3 separate regions of the Homo sapiens genome follow, and regions 2 and 3 are each linked to region 1. The links are contacts of gene promoters, found by promoter capture Hi-C in human tissues and cell types (Jung and others, 2019). All regions are on one chromosome and are shown on one strand. Each heading gives the region's core, a stretch centred on a gene start or on the middle of the fragment in contact. The rest is flanking DNA. Distances are from core to core; before and after follow the strand shown.

Evidence for each region. Contacts are between HindIII fragments. The study calls those that stand out against the background at their distance.
Region 2: a contact is called between a fragment that was not itself captured here and the fragment with the promoter of SLC38A1 in region 1, in 1 of the 25 tissues and cell types used here (spleen).
Region 3: the fragment with the promoter of ENDOU here is called in contact with the fragment with the promoter of SLC38A1 in region 1 in 1 of the 25 tissues and cell types used here (stomach).

Annotation. Positions count from the first base shown.
Region 1 is chr12:46,267,593-46,270,292 of GRCh38, forward strand. SLC38A1 (solute carrier family 38 member 1) reads right to left here and starts at 1,451. Exons shown (of 17, transcript NM_030674.4): 1 at 934-1,451. It overlaps LOC105378248 (a long non-coding RNA gene), which reads left to right and starts at 1,479. Exons shown (of 2, transcript XR_001749101.1): 1 at 1,479-1,566. RefSeq lists enhancers at 851-910, 909-1,891, 1,031-1,080, 1,131-1,230 and silencers at 1,641-1,820, 1,901-2,000. The HindIII fragment of the contact is 6,474 bases long and covers 1-2,700 here.
Region 2 is chr12:47,279,626-47,282,325 of GRCh38, forward strand. No RefSeq gene overlaps it. Among named protein-coding and RNA genes, the nearest start is that of PCED1B-AS1, 65 kb to the left of the region's middle. RefSeq lists a silencer at 1,361-1,655. The HindIII fragment of the contact is 4,624 bases long and covers 1-2,700 here.
Region 3 is chr12:47,724,191-47,726,890 of GRCh38, forward strand. It overlaps ENDOU (endonuclease, poly(U) specific), which reads right to left and starts at 1,300. Exons shown (of 10, transcript NM_001172439.2): 1 at 1,169-1,300. The coding sequence starts at 1,223. The region is part of intron 3 of RPAP3-DT (RPAP3 divergent transcript); the gene reads left to right. RefSeq lists a silencer at 1,815-1,934. The HindIII fragment of the contact is 12,082 bases long and covers 1-2,700 here.

The DNA.
Region 1 (2,700 bases), core at 201-2,700:
CCCCATGCGCCAGGAGGTGGATAATTTAGGGGGCAAGGGGCTCGCACAAGGGCGAAGATGCGCTCTCCTCCCGGCACCGACCCACGCGTTTAAAGGCCTCTGCGGCAACGTTTAGGGACGCGAACTAGGTGCCGGGGGTTGGGGAGGAGGTGGGACTGGAAGCGAGAGCAGTCTGCGCCCAAGACCGCGCAAGAGGTGGCCTTTTGTTCGCTGGCTCCAGCACATCCCGGCTCTCGAAAAAACACTACCTCTGTCCCCTGCCACCCTCTGCATTTTAGAAAATCCTCTTCAGGGCAGGAAAGGACAGTGAGTCACTGCAAGCATCCTTTAGTAATTTCTCCCCGCGCCCTCCTACTTCCCCGCGTTACAGAGGGGCAGAGCACCAGGAAGGACGGCAAACATGCCCCGGTTTAGTGGTGGTCCGCGGCCGCTACCCAGCCGGCCGCACGCAGCACCCCCCGGACATCACACGATCTCCTCTGGGCCTTGCGGACACAGGAAATTTTCACCAAAGGCCGGGGATTCAAACACTCCCAGAACACGGTCGCGCCCTCGGGTCAGCTGCGCTCTCCCTCCAGACGTGCGTGGTTCCTGGCTCTCGTAAAAATGGAACCAGATCTGGTACCACACTCTGCCACAGCCACAGGAAAACACACCAAAGTCACAGGAAAACAAACCAAAAAGTAAGCCACAGCCCACGCAAAGGTGAACTCGGGGGCCCTGGCGCTTCCTCCCGCTGCCGCGTGCGTTCGGGAAGCACAGGAGACCTGGACTTTTCCTCTCCTAAAAGCAACATCCGAAAGCATCGGGCACAGCCGAGCTCTCTCTGCTTTCACGCCCGCAGAGATGATTTCTACGTTACCTCCTCCTCCGACATCTAAATCTCCCCTTGCCGCTCGCCCAGCCCTCCCCGGGAACGGATAATCACCTTACCTCCGGAAATAAAGGGAAAGGTGGCAAAAGGCGATGTGGAGGTGTCCGCCCTTCCGGGGTTTTTACCCTCGGCAGTTTGATGTCCTTTGTGTCAAGGTCTGGCTGCGGAGGCCGGGAAAATGTGGCCCCCGTCAGTAAGGGTTGGGCAGGGAGCTTGGCGTGGCCTGGCGGATTTCGGAGGAAGGTGAAGGGCGGAGGCTCCTGGCGACCTTCTGGCGGAGTGGCGTGGCCGCCCCAGTCCGCGCTCGCCTGGCTCTCCTCCTTTCCGGGCCGATTGCATCAGAATCTCCCCTCACCACCAACCCCCACTCACACTCTGCTCGCCGGCCTCGCACTTACATCGACATGCACCGGCGCTGAGGGTCACGAATCGGAGTCATTCTCCTACTGGGGGACGCGTGGCCCTTCCGCAACCATGGCTTGTGATGGTTTAACGCGGACAGGCCATTCCTCCCCGTCCCGCGCGCGGTCTCCTCCCCTCCTGTGCGCCCGCTCTTTAACCAAAGCTGCGTGTCAGTGAGCCGTGCCGGTCACATGGTGTCACTGCTGGCGGCCGCACCTTGCTGCCTCCCTCTTGCAGCTCTCTGACGATGCAGCGACCGCGGCTGGCGGAGATTGAGCAACGGGGAAAGGGTGAGGGAGGGGTTGCGGGGCGCGCGTGTGCCCGGCGCACTGAAGCTGGCACCGGGAGCAGAGGCTGCGCGCCGCCCTGGCACCTGCCCCTCTCCCTCCCGGGGCCCGGCGGCGTGTTCGGAACCCAGCTGCGGCTGCAGCTGGAGAATGAGAGCCCTTAGGGATGGGGGTGGGGCGGCTAAAGGGGCACCGGCGGAGGACAGGAGGGCTGTGCGTTCCGCTGGGGCCTGCATTTTGGGTACGCCAGAGCCCCGCCGGGGCCGAAGGAGCGAGGGAGTTGCATTGTGGGAAGGGCGCAGCATGAGGATGGCCGCGGGAGTGGCAGGTCCGAGCGCAGCCCGGAGAGCCGCGGGCAGCGCCTGGGACTACGGGCAGCGTTGGAGCGGAGGGCTGGCCCTGGGCACAGCCTGCAGATGGCCCGGGTTGGCGGGAAGGGGACCGAAGTGGCAGGGGCGGCGGGGAGCTCGGGCACCTTTAAAAACCCTTTGTCCCTAACCTGAAGCGGGAGGCACCTCCCCTCTTCCGGATCCAGCACCCGCAGACCTGGTCAGCCCTTCCTGAGATCTGCCCTGTGGAGCTCTGCTTTGGGGACTGGGTGTGAGGTGAACCAGAAGGATTTGCTGAGCACCGAGAAAGCACCGGCCTAGGCGCAAAGAGCCGGGGGCCAGCTCTTGGAGGGCCTGGAGACCCCACGTGGTCCCGACCGAAGGACCTGGTGCGTCCAGGTTAACGGAGCTGGGGCGCTCCAAGTCCGGGGGACGAGGGAGCGGCATGGAGGGGAGCAGGGGCAACTGGGCCTGGTTCCCTTTTTTCCCGCTTACTCTTTGTTTCAGACACAGCCCCCTTTCACTGGCTGGGCACTTGCTTGCAGAGGAGTTGTGTCTTAAAATGGCGACAGGAAATCCCACCTGCGCCTCAGCCAATTAGACTGTCATAGCGCGAATTTGCAGGGTGGAAACGCGAGCTTTTTATTGATAGGGAAGGTTCAGTCTCCTGTTCATGGTTCATCAAAACAGGAAAGGGAAGGTGAATCATAATTCAAAAATTAACTACCTGGAGCGTTTCAAGTAGACAGTAGTCATTGTATTTGGGTGAATTTTGCTTTTTCATCACCACTGGAAAAGCAAGATGATA
Region 2 (2,700 bases), core at 183-2,682, 1.0 Mb after region 1:
GCCTTGGAGATGCAGGGGCAGAAAAGACAGGCAAATACTTGCCTATGTCACAGAACTAACATTGGGGTGCTGGTAGAGACAAAGAAATAGCACGTAAACAGGCTGGGTGTGGTGGCTCATGCCTGTAATTCCAGCACTTTGGGAAGCCAAGGCGGGAGGATCACTTGAGGTCAGGAGTTCGAGACCAGCCTGGCCAACATAGCAAAACTCTGTCTCTACTAAAAATACAAAAATTAGCCAAGCGTGGTGGCACATACCTGTAATCCCAGTTACTCAGGAGGCTGAGGCATGAGAATCACTTGAGATCGGGAGGCGGAGTTTGCAGTGAGCTGAGATTGCGTCACTGCACTCCAGCCTGGGTGACAGAGCGAGACTCTCTCTCAAAAAGAAGAAAGAAAGAAATGAAATAACATGTAAACAAATAAAAATTGTTCAGATAGTTATCAATGGGTGAAAAAAATAAAACCAGGTAAAGAGAGAGAATGACTGAGGGTGGGTGTCCAGTATTTTAGCTATGGTGCGCTGGGAAGTCCTATCTCAGGGGCACATTTAATACATGTGAATGTTGAAAAAGAACCAGCCAGGCTAAGATCTATAGTGAGTTGGATAAACTCACTTCTTTTTTTTAGAGGCTCTTTTTTTCTTTTCTTTTTTTTTTTTTTTTTTTGAGACGGAGTCTCACTCTGTTGCCCAGGCTGGAGTGCAGTGGCACAATCTTGGTTCACTGCAAACTCCGCCTCTCAGGTTCAAGCAATTCTCCTGCCTCAGCCTCCCAAGTATCTGGGACTACAGGACGTGCCACCATGCCTGACTAATTTTTATTTTTAGTAGAGACAGGGTTTCACCATGTTGTTCTCAGGCTGGTCTCGAACTCCTGACCTCAGGTGATTCACTCACTTTGGCCTCCCAAAGTGCTGGGATTACAGGCGTGAGCCACCATGCCCGGCCTGAACCTCTCTTCTTATGGTGATCACGAGAGCAGCATTTCCAGTAAGAGAAGGGAAAGCTGTGTCTGATCTTGGGAGGAAGTTGGGTAGGATTTAGGGTGGGAGAATGAAGAAGGAAGGGCAGAGACCAGACTAAAGGATTGTGTAGAGTGGGACAGAGGTGAGGCAAGCGAAGGGAGTTATGCACAAAACTTGCAGAGCCACTCCCTCTCAGGGCCATGCCTGCACAGGGCTGGTGCCCAAGTGTGAATTCTTCCCAAGTGTTTTGCCCTACTTACCTCACCTATTCCTGGCTTTGGGGATTGGCGTGAGGTAGCATGGTCAGAGGATAGCAAGGAGACCCTCTCTGCTAAGGAGAAAAGTAGGCCTGACATCCAGGAGCTGGCCTGGTACTATCAGTAGCCCTCAGTGTTGCCCTGAGCTGGCCTGGAACCAACAGCTAGACTTTGGTGTTCTCTGTGGAAGGGAAACAATTCACAGAACATCAATATCAGACAAGGCCACACCGTGACTACGATGGATCAAGATAAAGGCAAGACCACTTGGCATTCCTGCCTGAACCTGACAAAACATGAGCCTTGTCCAAGCCACAAAATACTAAACATCCTCCCTCTCAGCTAATATGAATGGTAGTTGCTTATTTACTAATTGCAGCTTTAGCTTCCCTCTAGTCTGCCCTCCCTATAAATAACATACTGATCATAGAATTACCCCAGCTTCCTAATAGTAGTCAATGCAGAGCAAAGCCTGGCTTCCTTGGACTCTCCCTCAAATCCTTTTTAGACCCAAAATAGTGGCCCAGCACTGTGGGAGGCCGAGGAGAGTGGATCGCTTCAGCCCAGGAGTTTGAGACCATCCTGGGCAACATGGTGAAACCCCATCTCTACAAAAAATACAAAAATTAGCTGGGTGTGGTGGTATGTACCTTGTAATCTCAGCTACTTGGGAGGCTGAGGTGGGAGGATCACTTGAACCTGGGAGGGCAAGGCTGCAGTGAGCCACGATTGTGCCACTGCACTCCACCCTGGGCAACAGAGCAAGACCCTGTCTCAAAAAAAAATCTTTTTTTTTTTAACACCCTTTTGCTGAGACACCCCAGGGCTCCCCATGGTGTGTGCTTGCCCTGGCTGTGAGTAGTAAACTCAACCTATACAGTGTGTTCCTGGTGGCCTCCAGCTGGAGAGCATTACCACAGGTGAGAATTCATCCTGGCAATGGGTGGAGAGAAATGAGGTTGGGTGGTAAGACTGAGTCAGTTTATGAGCTTGAGCGAATCATCTAAAAGTTACACTGAGGCCATGGAAGGAAACGTGTTGTCAGCTGTCTAGGAGCAAAAACTGACCAGGAGGAGAATTACAGTATTGAAAAATGGTTCTGGCAGTGTTCACAGTTAATGTGTCCATGGGGTGGGTGCCCTGGACTCTTGGCTGCTTTTTTACAGATGAAAAAACTGAAGTAGCAGCTCAGTGACTGCCAAGATCTGCATATTGACTAAGATAAGGCTTCTGAGACTCTCGTTTCTAATGTAGTAGTAGCTCCTAGTCAACCTCCTCCCCCTCCCGCCCTAACCACATGTTGTATTACTAGAAAAATAAAGCCATTTATTGGCTTAAAAATCATTAAATATGAAAATTCCCATGAGAAATTTAATAAATAAAATGATTCGCTCTCTACTTTTGAATTGAATTTTATCATCCATTAAATAAGCAGAGAATGTAGTGTCTTTGCTAAGTTTTCAGTGCTCAGTCTTGTT
Region 3 (2,700 bases), core at 50-2,549, 1.5 Mb after region 1:
TTAAGCCCCCAAGTTCCACCTTCCTCCCAACCAACAGGGCTGAGGCTGGTGGCTCCCAGGCCCACCCTCATGCTCTCCCACTGCCTCTCCACCCACTAGGGCCCAGGCAGAGCTGGTTTCTGGTAAGATGCACTATCTCATCCATGGTTGGGAGGCACAACTTCCTCTTCCAGGGGTTTTCCACTTAGAAATCCCATAAGGGTCTCCTTTCCACAACCCAGTTGGAAATGACCCCAAGCGGAAGTTTCTCCCAAGAAAATTTATAGTCATAATCATAGCGAATTTCCAGTTCACTGAGATCTCACTTTGCACCAGGTGCTTCTCATACATTATTTCATTTAATCCTTTCCACAGTCCTACACAGGAGCAACCCAGTGGAAGGATTCTTTCTCCTGTGGGCAGAGGAGGATTCTCCCCACACTCCTCAGCTCAGCCCCTCCCTTGGCACTCCTTCCCACCCACCCACTAGCTACCAATTAACCCATCAGCACCAGCATTTTGCACAGTTACTAAACAGGAACATGGTCCTGTTCCTCTGCCAGTCCCATCCCCTGGACCTCTCATAACTGTGGGCCAGGTCCCTTCTGTATTCTTCAATTCTCCTAACACTGCAACAGAGATCCATTCCTCTGACCCCTGTACAGCCCCAGATAGGACGAGGCCCACCTCCTGGTCAAAGGTCCTTTCAGTTTCCTCCTAAGCCTGCCCACCTCCTAAGGCTCTACCCAAAGTAACATCACACCCTAAACAACCTCACCTGTCACCAGGCAGTGGAAGGAGTGACCAAGGGCAGCCAGGCCACTCAGACCCCATGGACACCAGCCCTAGCTTTATTCCTTACAGTGGCCCCAGACAACAAAATCTTGGGGAGATCAAAAGTCAGGCTGGACTAAGGGATATTTGGGGCTGATCCTCCAAGGTGTCAAGAAGGGAATTCCATGAAATCAGACCATCAGCCCTGCAACTCTCTCCACATAGTCCAGTCCATTCCGGGACCAACGCCTGCACCCTCAGACAAGGACAACCCAAAAGTGCTCTGCGGCTTTAGGACAGAGCTCACCCTCCCTTGTCCCACGGCCCTGCCCTCTACCAAGTTCTCCAACTCTCTGCTTCTTTAGGCAAGATCCCGCCCCACCAGCAATCCCATGCCCGCCAGATAGTGACTTACCAGCCCAGGCCAGGCCACACAGCACGGCCAATACCAGGGAGATGCAGGCCCTCATGGTGCCCAGTTGGAGGCCAAAAAGGGAGTGGCTGTTGGACTTTCACTAGAGTCAGATGAATGTCACAGCTCTCAGACGAGCCTTATTCCTCAAGCTGATCCTTTTAAAGACACCAGGACTTGTGGAGCTGGTGTCTCCAGATCCTTTCAGGAAGAAAAAGGGGAGGGAGGGACCCTAGATGGATAGGAGGTGGGGCCCTACAGCTGTTTGAAGCCTGAGGGAAGGTGACTAAGAAGGTAGGTAATGCCAGATGTTGAGAACAGGTAATGCTAGCTGTTTGCAGCTTAAAAAATAGGTCATGCAGGCAGGCACACCAAGATGGGTCCAGTTTGGAGGGTTCTTTGTCCAAATTAGGGACACCCATGGGCTGATCTTTGGGTGATCCCCACCAAACAGACACCTACTTCCAAGTCTCAGACCTGACTTTCCAAGGGGCCACAGGTTGGATTCATCTTCAAATTCCTGGAGCTTAGCATGACACTGGCACACAGTAAGGTGATTGGTCCAAATTTGACAAACAGTAAGTGCCCAAGCAAGGGTTGGGGTCATTGGACAGAGAGATAGAGGATGTGTCGGTCAGAACCAGTGCTATTCTTATGACCACCAAGCCCAGCATAGCTAAATCAGCCACATGTCGAGCGCATGGCTAAATCACTCTAAAATATTATGCAAATGACTCTTACTGAGTCAGCCTCTGGGGTTTAAACGTTTCAGATTCCTTATGAGGCAGGGGAGGGGCAAGAGGCCTCTTAAAGGCAGCCGAAGGCCCACTCTTCTTCCCCTGGGAGCCCAGGGTTTCACTCCCTTCACCCCAACTTACACTCCTCTCCTCAGGAACTCCTCCCCAGTGAGGTTCTTTTGTTTCCAAGTCCAAAAGAAGGGGAGCAGCTCCCCGTGACTGTCCAGTTTTCCCCGATAATAAAGGTAAAATCTGCCAAGTATGATGCCCTTGCCAGAAAGAGCACTGCATGGGGATTCTCAACCCTCTCAGGAAAGAAAACTATCATATAAAAAGGCAAAATTGGTGAACAGTGGAGGCCACTCTATCAGTGATTTTTTTCTGGAGGTTGGGAGTGGAGCACGTCTTCATCCAGTGTGCTTTAACAGGAGAAGTTTCTTCCTCTCGCTGGTCTTCAGCTTTCTCATCTGAAATGATGGGGTTGGATCTGACAATCCCTTCCAGGTTCTCAGACTTTAATCTCGAGTTTTCCTGCCCATGCGCCAGGTTGAACAGTTGCTGGTGGGTTAAAGAGAATCCCCCAGCCTGTTGCTGTGTAGAGAGGAGTCCAAACATAGGGACTCAGGGGTAGAGAGAAGGACAAGCCTAGGGCAAGCAAACTTTGCAAGGGGCTCACACAGGAAGTGCAATGTATGTATATATTTTGAGATGGAATCTCTCTCTCTGTCGCCCAGGCTGGAGTGCAGCAGTGTGATCTCGGCTCACTGCAACCTCCATCTCCCCAGCTCAAGCAATTCT